Linked DNA regions of Homo sapiens: all the other regions are linked to region 1. Evidence: promoter capture Hi-C in 16 types of primary human blood cells and fetal thymus (Javierre and others, 2016). All regions are on one chromosome and are shown on one strand. Each heading gives the region's core, a stretch centred on a gene start or on the middle of the fragment in contact. The rest is flanking DNA. Distances are from core to core; before and after follow the strand shown.

The links. The method cuts DNA at HindIII sites, captures the fragments that hold promoters and counts their contacts. A CHiCAGO score of 5 or more calls a contact.
Region 2: the fragment with the promoter of ACY1 here is called in contact with the fragment with the promoter of TLR9 in region 1 in 1 of 17 cell types (M1 macrophages); the score reaches 5.3 in M1 macrophages.
Region 3: a fragment that was not itself captured here is called in contact with the fragment with the promoter of TLR9 in region 1 in 3 of 17 cell types (naive CD4 T cells, M2 macrophages and erythroblasts); the score reaches 5.3 in naive CD4 T cells.
Region 4: a fragment that was not itself captured here is called in contact with the fragment with the promoter of TLR9 in region 1 in 11 of 17 cell types (M0 macrophages, M1 macrophages, naive CD4 T cells and 8 more); the score reaches 8.1 in M0 macrophages.

What each region holds. Positions count from the first base shown.
Region 1 is chr3:52,224,334-52,226,959 of GRCh38, forward strand. It overlaps TLR9 (toll like receptor 9), which reads right to left and starts at 1,312. Exons shown (of 2, transcript NM_017442.4): 1 at 1,194-1,312. The coding sequence starts at 1,196. RefSeq lists enhancers at 1,092-1,191, 1,444-1,945, 1,702-1,791, 1,946-2,445. The HindIII fragment of the contact is 14,815 bases long and covers 1-2,626 here.
Region 2 is chr3:51,982,213-51,984,838 of GRCh38, forward strand. ACY1 (aminoacylase 1) reads left to right here and starts at 1,323. Exons shown (of 15, transcript NM_000666.3): 1 at 1,323-1,377; 2 at 1,835-1,946. The coding sequence starts at 1,853. ABHD14A-ACY1 (ABHD14A-ACY1 readthrough) reads left to right here. Exons shown (of 17, transcript NM_001316331.2): 4 at 1,835-1,946. RefSeq lists a silencer at 908-1,357. The HindIII fragment of the contact is 7,715 bases long and covers 1-2,307 here.
Region 3 is chr3:52,427,525-52,430,150 of GRCh38, forward strand. No RefSeq gene overlaps it. Among named protein-coding and RNA genes, the nearest start is that of SEMA3G, 16 kb to the right of the region's middle. RefSeq lists enhancers at 442-2,626, 1,170-1,269 and a silencer at 2,449-2,609. The HindIII fragment of the contact is 5,128 bases long and covers 1-2,626 here.
Region 4 is chr3:52,361,692-52,364,317 of GRCh38, forward strand. DNAH1 (dynein axonemal heavy chain 1) reads left to right here. Exons shown (of 78, transcript NM_015512.5): 30 at 1-75; 31 at 697-810; 32 at 1,304-1,453. Among named protein-coding and RNA genes, the nearest start is that of DNAH1, 47 kb to the left of the region's middle. RefSeq lists an enhancer at 600-1,153. The HindIII fragment of the contact is 7,102 bases long and covers 1-2,626 here.

The DNA.
Region 1 (2,626 bases), core at 62-2,561:
GTGAGTGGCCGGCCCCCAGCTCTACCTCCACCCACTCCACTTCATGGGCATCTTCTAGCATCTTCCAACCCCTCTCTCCAAGCCCTACCTGCAGAAGTTCTTCCTGGCTGCCAAGCCCCATTCCCATCCCCCATGGCTTGTGGGGAACCTGAACTCAGTCTCAGACCCAGTCTTGGACTCAGAATTAGGCTTCAGAACCAGGACTGAGACCTAGAATCCAGACTTATGATCTACAGCTTTCACTTAACCAATCCCTGGCTATACCAGGCCAGGCAAGGTGGCCCACGGCCCCCCCTGGTCTCTCCCCGACTTTCCCTTCCTGCTCCTGAGCAAGGTGGCAGCTGGCTCCCTCCCCTCCAGCTGCCCTGAAATCCGCTCTCTGCCCTCCACCAGCCACCCCACAACCCCTTCCTTTTCCTTCGGCCAAGATTCAGGCAGGTGTGAGAGTCTCCCACTATGGCCCAGGCCGGCTGCCTCCCAGGGACCCTGGCCAGAGGGCACTGCACAGCTCCATCACTCTCTGCCTGCCTCACCTAGCCCGAGAGCCTTTGCCTTATGGGTCAGAACAGATGGAGAGAGGGGTGGCCTGCAAAGTGCCAGACAGAGCCAGCCCCAAGCTACAGGCCCAGTGAGACCCAAACCCAGGCTCCAGCCCCAGCTCCATCAGTGCCTCAGTCTCCTCGTCCCCTCTGGGGGTTTGGGTCTCATTGCTCAGAAGAGGGCTTCAGTGGCTGGGCACGGTGGCTCACACCTGTAATCCCAGCAGTTTGGGAAGCCGAAGTGGGCAGATCACCTGAGGTCTGGAGTTCAAGACCAGCCTGACCAACATGGAGAAACCCTGGCTCTACTAAAAATACAAAATTAGCCAGGCATGGTGGCGCAAGCCATAATCCCAGCTACTTGGGAGGCTGAGGCAGGAGAATCACTTGAACCCGGGAGGTGGAGATTGCAGTGAGCTGAGATCAAGCCACTGCACTCCAGCCTGGGCAACAAGAGCGAAACTCCGTCTCAAAAAAAAAAAAAAAGAAAAAAGAAGAGGGCTTCGGCTCTGAAGTCTTCAGGATTCAGTGAGTGTCCCCAGGGCCATGTGGGTGACAACCCGTCACTGTTGCTTGCAGCTGCCAAGCCCACTTCTTTCCCCACCCCTTCCCAGGATATCCCCTTCCCCAGGGGACTGAGAGCTGTTGTCCTACCATGCTGGGGGGCAGGGGCTTCTCCAGAGGGTCTGGCGGGCAGACTGGACAGCAGCTACAGGGAAGGATGCTTCACACTCGAGGTCCCTTCCCACAGGGGCAGCAGCGGCTCAGAGAATAGAGGAAGTAAGATTTTTATACCAGCCTAGTAGCTCCCCCTCCACTCCACCCTGCCCCCAGTGAGGAGGACAGGGTCCCATGAGTCAAAGGCCATTTGCATAGTCAAATGGCAGACAGCTCCTTCACCCCTTCCTCTTTCCACTCCCCTCTCAGACAGCCTACATCCCATGAGGGCCTCACACCTGTCCTCTACCAAGCCCAGGGAGGAGCTAAGGCCCAGAGCTCAGGCAGAGAGCAGGGAGAGATGGGAATTCTGGATAGCACCAGTAGCGGGTACACCTTGCTGGGCACTCCCCATTCTAAGAGGACACTTCCACCCTCAGGTCTTGGCTCCTGCACCACAGCTGGTGCCCTCAGGACAGCGGCTGCCGACTTGTCCTTTTCTGCCCTTGTAGGCACCATCTCCAGAGTTCTGCAGGGCCTCATGCGTGGAGGGCCAGGGTGTAGCTTGAGCAGGAGGCTAGGCTGCACCTGCCTTCACCACAGCCTTGCAACATCTTCCGGAAACAAGACCTCCTCCTCCACATTCCCAGAGCCCCTGGGGCCCCATCAGAGCACACACCACGTCACTCCAGATGGGGCTCCTAGAGGCCAGGTGTGTGCTGGCCCAGCAGGGCCGCCAGCCAGTCCTCCCCATCAGTTCTTCCCACTCTCCTTCTGATCTAGGTGAGGAGACTCAGATTCCTCGGGCCCAAAGCCTTGGGTGACCCCGGGCCCCTCAGCAAGTTCTGCTGGGTCCACCATGCTGAAGGGTGTGCCCACAGCCCACCGTCCCCATGTCCACCAGCCCCCATCCTCTCTCCTAGACCCATGCAGGTGCCACCTCCCTTCTGGCTGTCCTGCCCTGCTCTCTGCCCTCCAGGGGCTGGTCACATTCAGCCCCTAGAGGGAACTGTTCAAACCTAAGTCACACTAGGTCCCTCCTCTGCTCAGACCCCTCCCTGGCTGACTCTGGAGTCAAAGCCACAGTCCACAGATGGCCAACAAGGCCCTATGGGACCTGCCACCCGCTGTTCCCCTGAGTGCTCTCCAGGCCCACTGGCCTGCTTGCAGTTGACTGTGTAGCCCCTGGGCATTCTCCTGCCTCAGGGCCTTGGGATGTGCTGTTCCCTCTGCCTGAAAACTCCCCCAAGTCTCATATGACCCCTCCTTTGCCTCCATTATGTCTCTGCTCCCATGTCACCCTCTCAACAGGGCCATCCAGCCTTCTTACAAACCTCCCACCCCAGATCTGGCACTCCTGAGCTCCTTTGCCTGGTCTATGTTTCTCTTTGTCCTAACATTTTTTAACTGCTAGCACACCGGATCATTGA
Region 2 (2,626 bases), core at 73-2,572, 240 kb before region 1:
AGACTCCATCTCAAAAAAATAAATAGCTAAATAATTAGCCAGCATTGTTATGAGTTAAAGTCTATTTGCCCGCATGAATAAATAGGTAAATAATTAGCCAGCATTGTTGTGAGTTAAAATCTATTTGCCCGCATGACAGAGTGAGACTCTGTATCAAAAAAATAACTAAATAAAGAATTATCCAGCATTGTTATGAGTTAAAGTCCATTTGCCCCCATGTTATGTGTGAGCAGCCAAGACTTAAACCTCAGGAAAGGTGGGACAGAACCCTTCCCACAGCGTGCCTCCTTGGCCTAGAGATTGAAGTCTTTGTCCCTCACCCTTCCCCAAGCTGACTCAGCCCCTGGAGCAGAGGGCAGACCTGGCTGGGAGTACAAAGGGCAGCTGGGGCACAAGTGGGCAACTGCAGCTGTGGCCTGCAGGGGGCCAGTGGTACACCTGTGCCTGTTTAGCCTCCCCCTCTGGTGGCTGCAGAAGAGCCAGTTTCCTCACACTGTCCATCCAGGGTCACAATTACATCCATTCACAGTGACTTCATCACACCCACCCACCATCTCACACTGTCACATACACAATCATATCCACTGATAGACTGCACACGCAGTGGCACGCTTAAACCGTCACACGTGCTCTTGTCCATGCATTCATTCCCATTCTAGGCACTGTCCGGGCTCGGCACGGCCCCGGGCAGAACCTTGCAGGAAGTGGAGCTCACAGCCTCCTGGAGTTCAGTGTGGGCAGACAGACATTGGCCAATAACTTCAGTACAAGTGGAGCTGAGGCGTCAGGGAGGACCTCCCCGAGGGGCTGAGGCCTGCAGTGGGGAGCCGTTGGAGACTTGCCGAGGAGGGCGAGGGCGCAGGCCCAGGGCTTTGCAGCTCTGCATCTTGAGAGCCTCGGGGCGGCCCCCTTTCCTCCCGCCCTATCCGGGGGCTGAAGGAGGAGGCGCCCTTAGGGGACGGGACCGTCCTGAGCTCCCGGCGCATACCTGGGGGCAGGAGTGGCAGGCGTGTCGTGTGGGGCGGGGCGAGCCTGTCAGAGCAGGGCCAGCCCGGAGCTCGCAACTCGCGGGGCGGCGCTGGCCGCGGCGGCCGCTGCCCGGGGACGGGATCCGGATCTAATCCTCCAGTAATCTCGCTGAGGCCCGAACCAGAGGCGGGCGGGGACATCCGCGCCGACGCGGCCGCTGGCGCCGGGACGGCCCTCACTGACGGTCTTCGGTCTCCGCCCCGACATCCGGCCTCGGCCACGTGGTGGGCGGACCGGGGCGGTCCTGAGCCTGCGACCTCGCAGGCGACCTCGCTGGACCCTAAGTCCAGGCCACAGTCAGGGAAGGGCGCTGAGAGGCGAGCGTGAGCCCAGCGACAGGAGAGTGAGGTGGGGGCCCTGGGGAGGGATAGAGGGACTGGGGCTCCGTGGCTTGAAAGCCGGGCAACTGGGAGGCGTTGGGGTTTTTCTTGTTTGTTTTTTGTTTTTGTTTTTGCCTTTTTTTTTTTTTAGGAGGGCGGGGGGAGTACAAGTCTGGGTTCAAACCTTGCTCAGCTACTCTATGAGCTGTCCTTGAACCTCTCTGAGCCTCTCAGCTTTCTCCTCTGTAAAGTGGGCATTCTGAGCACAAACTTCATGGGGCTCTTTTGGGGATTAAATAAGGAAATGTGCTGGAAGCAGACAGCCCAGCGCCTGAAACAGAATGGGTGCTCCTTAATGGGGGCTCCGAAACACGGTATCCTACCCCTGTGGGAAGTCCGGGAGCCGCCGTGGGGACAGGCTGTGTGCAGGAGCTCACCATTTCCAGGGTCTTGGAGGGGTAGTTAGCCATTCACTTTGCCCCCAGCTCACCACGCGCAGCGCCATGACCAGCAAGGGTCCCGAGGAGGAGCACCCATCGGTGACGCTCTTCCGCCAGTACCTGCGTATCCGCACTGTCCAGCCCAAGCCTGACTATGGTGAGAAGACGGTGGTTCCAGAGCCTGTGACGGGGCCTAAGGGACGGGGACTGTGCTCTAAACCAGCCTCCAACCCCTGTCACCCAGCTGAGCCCCACTCTGCTGTCCCAAATGGCTCCCCAACCCCTCCAGCCATTCCCCAAGTAAATAGACTGAGGCAGCCCCTCCAGGTTAGGGAGGAACCCTTTCCCCAGAGACTCTGCTGCTGACCAAGGTTACTCCTGGCAGCTGGTTAAAGAAAAACTTCACCTCACTCTCCAGGGCAGGAGTGGTGGGGGAAGCCTGAGGCAGCCACAGGGAAAGGAGAGGCCCTCCAGAAGCCCACTGGGGCTGGACAAAGGCCACAGCCCTTAGGGAGTCAAGCTTGGTGGCTAGGGCCTGGGAGGTGGCTCCTGCCTGTTATCCCAGCACTTCAGGAGGTTGAGGCTGGCAGATTGCTTGGGCCCAGGAGTTCAAGACTAGCTTGAGCAACATGGCAAGACTCTGTCTCTACAGAAAAAATACAAAAATTAGTCAGGAATGGTGGCACACCTGTAGTCCCAGCTACTCCAGAGGTTGAGGTGGGAGGATCGCTTGAGCCTGGGAGGTTGAGGCTGCAGTGAGCCGAGATCGCACCACTTCACTCCTGCCTTGGTGACAGAGTGAGACCCTGTCTCAAAAAAAAAAAAAAAAAAAGGAAA
Region 3 (2,626 bases), core at 65-2,564, 200 kb after region 1:
GACTTCAGGTGATCCACCCACCTCGGCCCCCCAAAATGCTGGGATTACAGGCGTGAGCCACCATGCACAGCCTATTCAATCATTTAGTATGGACTCCTGGACTTTGGGTTACAATGTAATAATACTTTATTTTGTTGCTCAAATTGCTTTGGCCACTGGGTGTTCATGTGTCCTTTTCACACATCCCCATCACTGTGTGTCTGGTTTTGTTTTGTTTTGTTTTTGAGCACTTTTTTACTTTCTGACACTGCAAGATGCCCCAAGCTCATCTTCTTTTAAATGCCTGTTTCATGACAAACACATGTTTAAAATTTTTAATACCTATTTTCATAACTGATGTGTCTTATTAGAATTAATTACTGTTTCATAACTTAGGAGCTGGGACAAATCAGTTCACTTAGGGATAGTAGAAATAGATGTTAAATAAAACTTTCCCAAAGCACCTGCTCCCCTTCCTCTAATCATTACCTTTACGGGAACCGTAAACTAAGGCCAGAAACCTCAGATTTTCCTTCAGCTTCCCTCTCTGTTCAGCCAACCTCTTTGTTGTCAGTTCGACTGTTTTTCAAATGTTTGCCTTCCTCTCCTTCCCATTGTCAGTGCTCAGCTCAGACCTTGATGCCTCATAGGATGGGCAGCAAAAGTCTGCATGGTTTCCTGTGTCCACTTGCTTCTCTGACACATCCACCCTTTTCCCTTCTGCCAGTTACCATAAAACATGTGCTAACTCTTTGCTCAGGATGGCCCTGCTGAGATTGGCATTCAAGACCTTCTACAAACAGGGCCTTCCATAGCTGCATCTCCCAGGACATCCCACCCACAGGCCTTCTTCTCTGGCTGCCTCAGAACACTGGGCCCGGGCCTGGGGTGCTCAGCCTGGAGAGTCCTGGCATCCATCTTCAGCCTGTTAAACACAGCCTAAGGGCTACTTCTTCATCTCTAGGCACTCTTACTGTCTCTGTTTGTACCCCCTGTTATAGCCCATGTCATTCTCTGTCTGTCCTACAGTTATGGGTCTGTCTTTCCTGCTAGATCAGAAGCTCCAGGGACCTGTCTGTCTTATTAACCTTTCTTCCCCTCATGATGCCTGGCCCAGGACTCCACGTTCAGAGGCAGTTTAATGTCTACAGAACTGATGGATGCTCCATACCCTGTATTCATAAGCCTGTGTTTTGCTGCCAAACACCAGAGGGCACTGTTAGCATGTCGATGAAGATTATAAACCCTCAGACCTGGAAGGCTGGGAAAGGCTTATGAAAATCTTGCTTCTGTTTTGGGATTACATAAGACTTATTGCGCCTCAATTGTTCTAAACACATCTGTTCGAGTTTATTCATGAGGCACGTTCCTGTTGGGGTTAGAGATGAGTTTGAAAGCTCCCCGTCACAGGTCAAATCCTTAGACAAGACTGCCTTCATAGTCTCTCCAGACCCAAAGTGGCTCTCCTAACCCACCAAAAATATCTCCCAATTACTCATTGAGAGGCATCCAGATGCCCTCTCCTCCACCAAAAATGGCGACTGCCAGTCCCAAGGGGGAATGTGTGATATGGTTCTATTCCTTTTCTGCCCCACCCTCCTCCCACATGCACACATGCACAGGTACCTGTCCACACGAATGCACACTCACTGCCATCAGGACCTCTGGGTGGTGGCTCAAACGGTGGCTCAAAGGCTCTAGCCTCTATGGGCAGGGTGGGAGGATGCTATGAGAAGCAGCACCTCCACTGGCCCTGACCCCAGGGAGACAGCATCAGTTTCCCATGTGCTCCCAGTCACAGCATCATGGGGGCCCCCAGGTGTGAGAAGTCTCCCTAGTGACTAAGCCAGGGAGCTCCATTCCAAAGGAGCTGGCTATTTGCAAAGGTGTCATGGCTTGTACATTTTTCCAAAAAATGACAGAAAAACTGAAGAACTGATTTTTTTCCCAAAACAAAAAACCCTTGCCCTCACTTCTCCCTAGCAAACCTGCTCTAACCCTGGGATCCCTGAGCAACATGACAGCATGAGGTCCAGATGGAAGGGGTAAGCCCCAGGAGCCCCTTCCCCTTGTCTTTGGTGTAAACTGGCTTCTTGACCCTGCCCTGCACACACCCCTAATAAACAGGAAGGCATCCGCGCCATTAGTATCCATCCTTTTCAGAGCATCTGAGACCTGTCTGGACCATCAAAGCCATCCCCAGCCCCCAGGAGCCTACTGGAGGAGACACCAGCCTCGCCAAAACAATTCTCCATTGTGTTCTTCCCCTTAGAAATCATGGGTTTGTAAACAGGCCCTTACATTTCAGCAGGTCCTGCCCTGGCTTTGTGCTGGTGTGTTGTTTTTTCTTCCCTGAACAATGTCCTTTCCAGTAGGGCCAGCCGTTCACACCATTGTCTGAGACCCTTGGACTACAGGAAACATCACCAGATTCTTATCAGTTGGGGGCAGGAGTGGGGGGGTGAACAGATGAGATCATGTCCACAGAGCAAGTGGCTGGTGTGCCACGTCATTCCCCATGCCTTCATCTGTGAGAGCAGAGCCCGCTCGCCCTCCATCAATCTGGGCTTCATGTGTCCAGAGTCCAGTCCCCTCTATTTGGTGGTAGACACCTGGACTCTGTTCCAGGCCTCTGTTGAGTCACTTT
Region 4 (2,626 bases), core at 70-2,569, 140 kb after region 1:
AATCGCATCGACATCGAGGTGCTGTCTGTGGTGGCGCAGCAGATCACCACCATCCAGAAGGCGCAGCAGCAGCGGGTGAGCCCGGGGGACCCACCTTACTCCCTCAGATCTGCCATACTCACGCCGCCATACTGCTCCCCATTGCAGGCTGAGAAGCCAGGCGCTAAGGTCCACCCTGGGTCCAGCCTCTCTTGTCCCGGGGGCACACCCTAACCCCAGTCTGTGGGCAGCTCCCAGGCCAAGCTGCGGGGGATGAAGGGGTCCCCTCCTCATTACATCCTGACCTTTATGGAAAGCCCCAGGCATTGGTCCTTTCTCTAGCCACGTGCAGGGCGGCCAGGGACCTTGTTCTGGGGACAGGAGCTGAGAGGCTAGCAGTTATCCCCTCCCCCACTTCCCCTAGTCAGGCTGAGCTTGGCTGGAGCTGGGGAATTGGGGGTGGAGCGAGTGGGAAGCAGGAGATGTGGAGACCTCCAAGGGCCTGAAGCCAGGAGCTGGAAGGCCATGGGTAGCCACTGGGGCCTGAGGTTTCAGGCCAGATCCTGAGAGAGGATACAACCCATGATCAGGGGTCCAGGCCTGGCCTACCAGCTACAGCCAGGACAGGGGCATCAACAGGGGACAAGGGGCCCACTCAGAGGAGGGGACAAGGCTGGGCACCCTAGTCCCAGGCAAGTCAGCCTCTCCCCACTGCAGGTGGAACGCTTCATGTTTGAGGGTGTGGAGATCCCACTGGTGCCATCCTGCGCAGTGTTTATCACCATGAACCCGGGCTACGCTGGCCGCACGGAGCTGCCTGACAATCTGAAGGCAAGTGCAGGCCCAGAGTGGCCCAGGAAGCACCAGAGCTCTAGCCTGAGTTCAGAGATGCTAAGCCACTTATGCAAGGACACAGTTGCTTGGACTCCAGGGACTGTGATTCCCTATGGTAGCCCCTTAGCCATGGAGGGGAGGCCTCAGGGCCTCAGACTTGTCCTCAGGGCATGGGAGAAGTCAGGCTGCCTATGGATGTGGTGTGGAGGGGGAATCTAATGAGACCTGTTCACCCTGGGCCTTCAGGAGAAACAGGAAAACAGGAGCCAAGAGGGGCATCTCCTGGGAGTCATGTGGGGGCAGGTTTGGATCAACACCAAGGATCCACTCTAATGGCAGAGCTACCAGTCTCAGGGGAGTGAAAGCCTCAGCTGTGGCAGGCTTGGTGCAGCAGGGAGTCCCAGCGTGTTAGGGAGGAGGGCCGGATGAAGCTGGGGGTGCTCTGGGGGTGAGCTCTGTTTGCTGTTCACATGTGCACTGTGTGTCCCAGGCGCTCTTCCGACCCGTGGCCATGATGGTTCCAGATTACGCCATGATCACTGAGATCTCCCTCTATTCCTTTGGCTTTAATGAGGCCAGTGTGCTGGCTAAGAAGATCACAACCACCTTCAAGCTGTCTTCTGAGCAGCTCAGCTCCCAGGTGTGGTCCTGCCCTGATGGGTTTCCAGGGTCTGAAAACTTCTGCCTGCTCCCAGCCTCCAGGGCACCTGCTGAGGGCCAGGCTCTATGCCCGGTGCTTTACAGGCATTACCTTGTCGGCTTCTCCCAGCAACCCTTGGAGATAGGAGTTACATGCCCATTTGTCAGCTGAGGACACCGAGGTCCTAGGTAGCTAAAGGTCTGGCCAGGCTCATGCAGTACACAGCAGCGCTGGAGCAGGAGCCAGGAACAGATGCCTGTGTGGCTACTTCAGGTGCAAGGGCCTTGATCATTAGGGCACCAAGAGCTTCAGAACCCCAGGCTGGGGAGCAAGTGCACCTGGGCCTTGTGGGGACCAGAGTAGGACAGCCAGGCCCTCCGAGCCTCCCAGCACCACCATCCTTCCACTCAGCTTGCTGAGCCCAGATTCCAAGGACAGATGGGGTGGCCCAGGCACCAGTGCTGGTGGATGAGCTTTCCTGTTCAGCTTGGTTCCCAAACAGGCCCCCACTTTGCAGCAGCAGAGACGAGTCCCACCTCTGGGCTGACATGCTAGCAACTTAGTTTGTCTTCCATCATGATTTCAGAAAAAAATCCCTGTTGTCACCCTAATGGGCCTTCTCTGGGTCACCTGCTCATCCATGAACACCAATCACTGTGGCCAGGGGTAATCAGTACTACCTTTGGCCAGATGCAGTCCACCAAAATCTATGAGCTAGAAGAGATGCAGCCTGTTACCAGGAAAAGCAGTGGCAGTTCATCACAGTGCACTCCTGGGTGCCGGCGCTCCCACACACCCTTCTTTCCAAAATGCTCCCCACCCCCAATCAGAGCAACTATCCCACATGGTTTTGGAAATGCACTCAACTCTTCCCAAATAGAAATGACCCAAAGTCAAGCCCAGCCTCTTCATGCAGCTCCAAGTCCGAGATTTCTGGAACATATGCTAGTCTATGGGTTGGGTCTAGATGGAGTCCTCTTGGTTGGGCACCATGGGGCAGAATGATTAATTTAACTATTTCCAACTCACTTACTGTGTAATGAAGAGAAACAGGCTGGGGGAAAAAGCATGGTGGTGTGGCCAGAAAGACGGGTCTGGAGAGATGTTATGGGAGAATGTTAGAAGGAAGCTCAAGGGCCATCAAGGCCAAGCTGATTGTTGCACAGATGGGAA